2 separate regions of the Homo sapiens genome follow, and region 2 is linked to region 1. The links are contacts of gene promoters, found by promoter capture Hi-C in blood cells and fetal thymus (Javierre and others, 2016). All regions are on one chromosome and are shown on one strand. The core of a region is centred on a gene start or on the middle of the fragment in contact, and the rest is flanking DNA. Distances in the headings are between cores, read along the strand shown. Region 1 holds the start of DNAJB14 (DnaJ heat shock protein family (Hsp40) member B14). Region 2 holds the start of TSPAN5 (tetraspanin 5).

Region 1 (4,138 bases), core at 634-3,133:
TCTCTGATTGGGAAGAAAGGACAACAGAAGACTGTCTAAAGGATGCCTGGATTCCTTGTTATCTCAGGACTCTAAATACTCTAACAGCTGTCCAGTGTTGGTGATTCCAGTGGACTGTATCTCTGTGAAAAACACAATTTTGCCTTTTTGTAATTCTATTTGAGCAAGTTGGAAGTTTAATTAGCTTTCCAACCAACCAAATTTCTGCATTCGAGTCTTAACCATATTTAAGTGTTACTGTGGCTTCAAAGAAGCTATTGATTCTGAAGTAGTGGGTTTTGATTGAGTTGACTGTTTTTAAAAAACTGTTTGGATTTTAATTGTGATGCAGAAGTTATAGTAACAAACATTTGGTTTTGTACAGACATTATTTCCACTCTGGTGGATAAGTTCAATAAAGGTCATATCCCAAACTAGTTGTGTATTAAATTTGCTTGGTTGTAATAGGAACTTGTTTTGAGTATCTCATCTAGCAGCAATAACTAAGCACATTTCTTTGTGACTGAACTGTCAAATCTGTAGATCAACAAAGTGAGATAGCCCAAGTATATTTTTTTAATGTTATATGAGCTACTAAAGTTTTAATTTAAAAAGTTGGCAGGAGCTGGAGTGGGATTGTCAGTTTCTTAGGCTAAGTGTGACCATTTCAGTTTGTACATTGGCTTCGCTTGCTGTGTGACAGCACTGCACTAGTATGCTGTTAGCATGGTGGACTTGGGGAGGGAGAGAATAGGTAGGAATGTCCTGTATATCCACAGAATGAACTCCGAATTTAAACTTTAAAGATAATAGTGCTACGTGCCAGGCCCTGCTTTGAAGTCTGAAGTTGTTAAGTACTCAGTAACATCATTGGGGATATACTATCTCCATTTTATCGAAGAGAAGCAGGGTTTCTTATTTGAAAGTACCGAGTTATGGTAGTTAGCAGAATTAACAGCTTGGCTCACAGCATTATGTAAAAATTGTTACCTTGTGGTTGGGTTGAGCAGGTCATTTTGACAGTTTGTCATGTTTTTTTTTAAAAAATTTGCACATAGCAAACATTCCCCCCACCCCCACCGCGAAGACTAACAAGACACGGTACTTCCAAGTGGTAATGTTATCCAAATGGGACGGAAAAGGTGAAATCAAAAGTTTGCTTTCGTTAGGGCAGCCCCTGAGGGGCTGATTCCTGCCTTGTTTTGGCTACACAGGATTAAGGTCGATCTGCACCACTCGTTGCAAGCTACAAATTAAACTGCTTTGTACTTTGGATAGCCAGACATCCGGGTCAGAAAAAATGTAGCTGAAATAAGGCTGCCATACAAGCCCTAAGATTAGGTTCAAACGACGCTCTAACGTGTCCCGGAAGTGCTGAGACTGGACTGACACCTTGGTCCTCACCTGACCGCATCCTCCCTCGCTTGAGGGGCCCAGAGGCGGAACCTCCAAGTCCTGGCAATTTTACTGAAAACGAGTGTCCCCTTCCCGGACCCTGTCCTCCTGGCCTGAGCTGCGAGGGCCTCGCCTGGAGGTCACAGGGCACGGCGCTACCAATGCCGGCAATCGGGTCCCGGGCGGAACCCCTCCCCGCGATGGGCAGCCCGGCTGCTATCGTCCGCCTCCCGGGCAGGTCCGCTTCGAGCCTGCTGGCGCCGTGCGCGGACCACCGAGTCAGCTCGGACGCCCCGGCCCAGGAGGTTGGTCCTGGGCCGGGACGGATGCGGATCGCGCCCTAGGGGCCCGCGGGGGGCGGGGAGGCCGCCGTGAGGAGGCGGAGCTGCGAGGCCCGCCCGTCCGCCCGGGCCGTCGCAGCCGCTGCCGCGGTCCCCTGCGCTCCTCCCCGCTGCCGCCGCACGCCCCCAGCCGGTCCCGCCTCGCCTCCTCCGCGGCGGCGGCTTCCGCCCTTCTTAGCTGCGCTGCCGGAGGAAACGGAAGAAGGAGCAAGCTATGGAGGGGAACAGGGATGAGGCTGAGAAATGTGTCGAGATCGCCCGGGAGGCCCTGAACGCCGGCAACCGCGAGAAGGCCCAGCGCTTCCTGCAGAAGGCCGAGAAGCTCTACCCACTGCCCTCGGCCCGCGGTGAGACCTCAGCGTCCCTTCTCTTCCTGCCCAATCCCCAGACCACCGCGTAGCCCGCCCCTGCCCCCACCTCGGCCCCTCCTGGAGGCCTGCGGGGCCCCCGGCCTGTCTGAGCCAGCCCCAGCCCCAGGCCCGGTGGGGAGCATCCCGACACACCCCCGCCCTGGCCCCAGCCCCGGCTCCGGGCTGGGGCTCGGGGAATGCTGCGCGAGGTTCCTCTGCACCCGCCTGCCCGCCGGCTCCGCGTTCCGCTGTCCTAAATGTCCGGGTTTCATTCTCCCTGGAGGAGACTTGTCTGGTCCCGTCTTACCACAGTGAGGCTTTATTTGTATCTGTGTTGTTTATGTGGCCCCCTCCCTCCCCATTCTCAGTCCTACATAAGGCCTAGGCCCCTATCGAAGTGAGAGGAATGGTGTACTCTAGTGGCTAATCTCAGATTCCATGTTTCTGAGATCTGTAGAAAACTGTTCCCAAAGCAAACATCGAATACCTGAGATGACATTGCTTTTCCCTGGGAGAGAGTTCCTTTAAAAGAGAAGAGCACACTTTCGGCAAGAATGGTCAAGAGTCAGTAATGATTGCTGAAGAGTATCTGATTTGATAACACCATGATTATCGACGAACCAAATCTCTGAGGAATATGGTACTGGGTTTCCTTTAGTTGAAGTCAGCTTATTTATTTTCCTACTCGATAGGCTTCGGAGTAATAATAGCCAACATTTATTGAGCACAAAGTGCCAATAGTTGTGCCCAACATTTTGCATGGATTATTTCATTTATTCCTCAGAACAATTCTGTGTAGAGGTGCAGGATTCATTTGACCAGGTTTACCCACGTGGAAACAGACTTTCTGATAATTAATGAATGAATTAGCGAATGAATGAAAGTATCTTACCCAAGGTCACACAACAATTAGTAGCAAAGTCAGAATAGTAGCTGAACTTTCAGACTCGAAAAGGCCTTTAACCGCTACACTGTTGCCTTGCCATTAGTATTTCCAGGTTAAGAAGAAAGTTATCGATAGATTCAATTAATTGTAGAAAATTATTAATGAAAATATGGGGCCACTTGTTTTGTTGTCTCTTAAATTTTTTTCTCTACGTCGTTGAAGCCCTGTGCTCTTTGCTTTTCTCTCTATCCTTTCCATTACATTGCCTTCTAACACTATACCCATGAGGACAGGAAAATAAAATGAAAGAAAAGAGTTAATAATTTTTTAAGTTGTGGTTTAAAAACCTGCCAAATTTACGGTCTTAACTATTTTTAAGTGTGCAGTCCATTAGTGAAGTATATTGACATTGTTGTGCAAGGACTCTTCAGAACTTTTTCATCTTACAACACAACTGTGTACTAATCAGACAGCTCCCTACCGCCCCGTCTCCTAAGACCCTGGCAACTACCATTCTACTTTGTGTTTCTGTGAATTTAACTACTTTAGTTACCTCAGATAGGTAGATTCATGCAGTATCTTTTTGTGACTGTCTTACTTCACTTAGCATAATGTTCCCAAGTTTCATTTATGTTGTAACGTGAAGAATTCCTCTTTAAAAAAATACTGATTAGGCTGGGCGCGGTGGCTCACGCCTGTTATCCCAGCACTTTGGGAGGCCGAGGCGGGCGGATCATTTGAGGTGAGGAGTTCGAGACCAGCCTGGCCAACATGATGAAACGCCATCTCTACTAAAAATACAAAAAAATTAGCCAGGCGTGGTGGTGCATGCCTGTAATCCCAGCTACTAGGGGATGCTGAGGCAGGAGAATCGCTTGAACTCGGGAGATGGAGGTTACAGTGAGTCGAGATGGCAACACTGCACTCCAGCCTGGGCGACACAGCGAGACTCCATCTCAAAAAAACAAAAAAAAAAAGACCAAAAAAAAGCTACAGTAAAAAAACTGAATAATATTCCATTGTATATATACACCACATTTTGTTAATCCATTCATCTGTCTATGGACATTTGGGTTCCTTTCACCTCTTGGCTATTATGAATAATGCTGCTATGAACAAGGATATGCAAAGAGCCTGCTTTCAATTATTTTGGATACCAAGAAGTGGGATTGTAGGATCATACAGTA
Region 2 (4,138 bases), core at 1,076-3,575, 1.3 Mb after region 1:
TTATCTTACCTTTCCCTTCTCCATTGATTTTTCTTTTTAAGACTTTATTTTCTTAGCAGTTTTAGTTTCACAGCAAAATTGAAAGAAAGACTGCATACTGTATGATTCCTTATATATGGCATTCCGGAAAAGGCAAAACTAAGGAGACAGGGATACAGTCAAACTTCAGTGGCTGCCAGAGACTGGGGGGAGGAAGGGATAAATAGGTGGTGTACAGAGGACTTTTAGGGCAGTGAAAATACTCTGTATGATACTATGATACTATGAGGGTGGGTTCATGTTATTCTATATTTGTCCAACCCTATAGAATATACAGCCCCAAGAGTGAACCCTAATGTAAACTATGGACTTTGGGTGATAATGATCTGGCAATGTAGGTTCACTATTTGTAGCAAATGTGCTACTTTGGTTGGGGATGTTGACAATGGGGGAGGGTGTGGGGTCGGGTATATGGGATATCCACTGATTTTTATTTCAAAGATAAATCCACTTAGAGATCAACTCAGTCATCAATTGCATCTAATTTCTGGTCCTTTTGAAATGTGTCACATCAGCTTAGGACAGACCTTTCTTCTGACTCATCCAGTATTCCTGCAGCGACTGTTCTATTTATATACAGAATTACAACATAGCTCCAATAGGCTTAGGTAAAGCTTGTCAGTACCTTCCTGTTAACAAGGAAATCTGCTGCTGAAAGACCTTACTTTTGAAGTCTACCAGATTGGTGGTAGTATGGCCTGTGTTTTGAGTGGGTAGAGAGCACTTTTGAGGGAGTGAGGATTATTTCATCCAAAGGGCTGAAGCTACTGTTATCCCGTGTCATAGCTTCTGAGGTACTGAATGAGTAGGATCTCCTGGCCCTCCCATCTCTGTGGGTACCTCGTTCATACTTGCGACCTCAATATAGCCTCAATCCTGCTGAAGCCCAGTACTATCTCTAAATGTGGTTTATTGCAGGAAAAAGTAGCTTCTTGACTAGCCAAAACTTGACTGCCGGTTGTCAACTAGCCAGTTTTTGAGAAAAGTGAGAGGTTGTTACGTAGGAAACCTTATAACTAGAGGCTCTCAAACTCAAGTATTTAAGTATCATCTTTTAGATTTCTGTGTCCAGGATCGGGTTGCACTGGGTGGTGCTGGAAAAATTTTTTGATCTCACCTCCTTCTAGCCTTTTGAATCCTTAAAAATATTCCCATAGACATTTATACACAGTCCTGGGCGGTTCTTCCTTCTCCTTCCGTGAAATACTGGTACCTGCTTTGCCAACACCTATGAAAGTGCTCCAGGAGGAGGGCGGATAAGCAACTAATGAGCACACCTGCTCAGGTAGGGTTCTAAAACAATTTCCAGCCACCTGTTCTATTCTTCCCCAGAGTTCAAAAGCTTAATGGTTCGTGATCCAAAAACCCAATTCAGATTCCCCAGAAGACCTCCCTGGAATCCGTTGTGGATTCCTTCCTAGAGTTAGGAGGCAAGCAGGTTTCTTAGGCACTATTCTGTCGGGGTAGGGGGGAGCGTGCGCTGTCCGGGTTTGTGTGGTTGCAATAGACCCTAGGGCGAGGATCGCATCCCGGGCCAGGACTCCCTTGAGCCATCTCTTTTTCCTCGTCCCCATTTCTAGGATAAAACCCATTTCTCCGGTAGGTGGGGAGGTTGGGTTAGAGTCACACAGGGATTCAGGAAGCTTTCCTTTTCAACGTCCCATCCCTTCATCCTTTCCTCCCACTTCCCGTGGCTCTTTTCTCCACCTTCCCCAACTACCCCCTTTTCCATTCAGCGAAGTCCACGACGACTTTCCTTCCCTGTCCAGTGGCATCGCATCTTCTCTAGCCACATAAGCCTGTTGTGGAGGAGGGGGCGCCAGTGTGGCTACCCTGGAAGGGGTGTCGGGGGTGGCTCGCAGGTCCTCACTCACCCAGCCCTCTCCCCGAGGAGCGACCCTCTCGCCCGCGTCCCTCCAGAGCTGCGCCGCTCATCAATCCCGGTCACTCTGCCAGCCTGCTCCCCGGGCGCCCTTCCTTCTCCCTCTCGCCTGCGGTCCTCCACCCTCCCACCCCCTACCTACCCCGCAGCGACGTTCGGGGTCAGCGGCGCTTGGGGTTGGCCCGAGAAGGGGCGGGGATAAAGCGAGCGGTGGAAGGAGGCGGCTACGTGGTGCCACCGCCGCCCGGGAGCGCCCGACCCCGTGCGCGCGCGCGCCTAGCCAAGGCTTGGGCGGCGGGCGGAGCTGCGGGCGGCGCGGGCGGAGGAGCAGCCGGCCGGGCGGGCGGAGCGAGAGGCGGGCGGAGCGAGGGGTGGGAGGGCGCGCGCGAACGGGCGGGCGAGCAAGCGAGCGGCGTCTCCACCAGCATCTGCCGCGGCCGCCTTTGCCCGAAGCCCGGGGACGAACCGACGGACCGACCGCCTGGCGCACGGACGCGGGCGCTCGCTTTGTGTTCGGGGCTAGCGTCGGCGAGGCTTGAGCTTGCAGCGCGCGGCTTCCCTGCTTTCTCGCGGCCACCCCGGCTCCGGCGGCCTCGGCGCGCGAGGGGCTGGAGGTGCGGGAGCCGCTCTCCGCCGGTCGGTCCCCGCGCGGCTGAGCCCAGGCCGCCAGCGCCGCGGCCCCGTGCGGTGTCCCTGAGCTCCTGCTCCCCGCCGGGCTGCTCCGAGCAACGGTGCTTCGGAGCTCCAAACTCGGGCTGCCGGGGCAAGTGTCTTCATGAACCCAGAGGATGTCCGGGAAGCACTACAAGGGTCCTGAAGTCAGTTGTTGCATCAAATACTTCATATTTGGCTTCAATGTCATATTTTGGGTAAGTTGGAGCGCTCCTGGGATTCCAACTATTGTGGCCGATCGATTCGCGACGATTTCCCCCACGTTGTTCGTTGCCTTTACTTTTCGCAGCCCCGCAGGCGCTTGCCGGAGCAGCATAGAGGCATTCGCCTTCCGCCTTTCCAGCTTGCGCGTTGGAGAGATAAACATTTAATCCTTTCGAGGAATGGGAAGAGGTGAAAAGAGAAATCGAGGCGGAAAGGGGGCACCGAGGCCTTCTGGTGGCTTTTTGAGGAACGAATAGCAGGGATGCAGATAAAAGAAAGGGTTCGGCAGTTTGAGAAATGAGCAACCACACGAATTGGATTTGCTCTCGGTGGGATATAGATGTTGGGCAGAGCGTGGTGTCATAATAGGGAAGGCTAATCGGGCACGGCCGACCCTGAGGTCCACCTTCTAACAACGATCTGATTGGACGAGGGCTTGGCTCCGTGTTGCCGCGGCTGGTCTGTGCCATGCTCAGCGTGTATCTTCTTGCACCATCTCGGGCTTTGTGTAGGATGCAGATGCCGTGGTATATGGTCCTGTAATTGCACGTAAATAACGTTTCCTGCACGCTCTCCTCTTCAGCTGGAAAGCGCTCCCTGTGCGTAATGGACTGGTCAGTGGGGGTGCGGGGTAGAGGGATTTATTTGTATGTATATATCATCGTCAGGATAATAAGTCACCGTCAACATATATTTCAGTGTGTTCCTGCCCCACGTCCTCATTTTTAAAGGAGTGACACAGAGCGGGCCGTTTGGGGGAACCTTTGTAGAAATGCAAAGGAGAAGGTGTGCGAGGCATGTTTTATTGGGGAACCGAGAGAGCAAATGCTTTAACACAAGATTCAAATGATGCTCTGCTTGGGACTGCAATGTGTTGGGAACCTATTGTAATTAGGCTGGGACGCCTACTCTTTTTGTTTGTTTGTTTGTTTTGATTCTTTTCCTTGATCTGGCAAACGTGTTCAGCAGCCAGACAAAGAGTTCTCCAGGACAAGGGGAAAACGTTGGTTCAAAGACCATGTTATTTTTCTTCCCCTTCTCATCCCATCTCATCCTCTTCCTCAGTGGGCACCCGCATTTCCATAGAAAGTAAAGATGGTGGCTGTCTGGGTAGGGGGTTCTCTAAGTTGCTGTTCAGTGTGAGGTAAACAATGCTCCAACTGCAGGATCAATAATTATCCACAGCAGTCTGAACACGGAATGTATTTATTTGAATTCTCCTTTAATTTGGGCTGTTTGCTGTACGTATATACATCTGTGAGAATAGTTGTCAATACGGCTCTTCATATTCTTTTTTTGTACCGCACTCTTACCAGGTTATTTTATTTTCTGTTTTCTATT

Evidence for each region. Contacts are between HindIII fragments. The CHiCAGO score rates a contact against its expected background, and 5 or more counts as called.
Region 2: a contact is called between the fragment with the promoter of TSPAN5 here and the fragment with the promoter of DNAJB14 in region 1, in 2 of 17 cell types (non-activated CD4 T cells and activated CD4 T cells). The highest score is 7.1, in non-activated CD4 T cells.

The regions. Positions count from the first base shown.
Region 1 is chr4:99,944,363-99,948,500 of GRCh38, reverse strand. DNAJB14 (DnaJ heat shock protein family (Hsp40) member B14) reads left to right here and starts at 1,883. Exons shown (of 8, transcript NM_001031723.4): 1 at 1,883-2,062. The coding sequence starts at 1,930. H2AZ1 (H2A.Z variant histone 1) reads left to right here. Exons shown (of 5, transcript NM_002106.4): 5 at 1-413. The coding sequence ends at 39. RefSeq lists a silencer at 1,620-2,279 and an enhancer at 2,450-2,499. The HindIII fragment of the contact is 11,087 bases long and covers 1-4,138 here.
Region 2 is chr4:98,656,798-98,660,935 of GRCh38, reverse strand. It overlaps TSPAN5 (tetraspanin 5), which reads left to right and starts at 2,325. Exons shown (of 8, transcript NM_005723.4): 1 at 2,325-2,790. The coding sequence starts at 2,710. It overlaps TSPAN5-DT (TSPAN5 divergent transcript), which reads right to left and starts at 2,034. Exons shown (of 3, transcript NR_148380.1): 1 at 1,914-2,034; 2 at 10-138. It overlaps LOC112267901 (a long non-coding RNA gene), which reads right to left and starts at 2,213. Exons shown (of 3, transcript XR_939016.3): 1 at 2,064-2,213. RefSeq lists silencers at 2,168-2,347, 2,601-2,760. The HindIII fragment of the contact is 4,978 bases long and covers 1,685-4,138 here.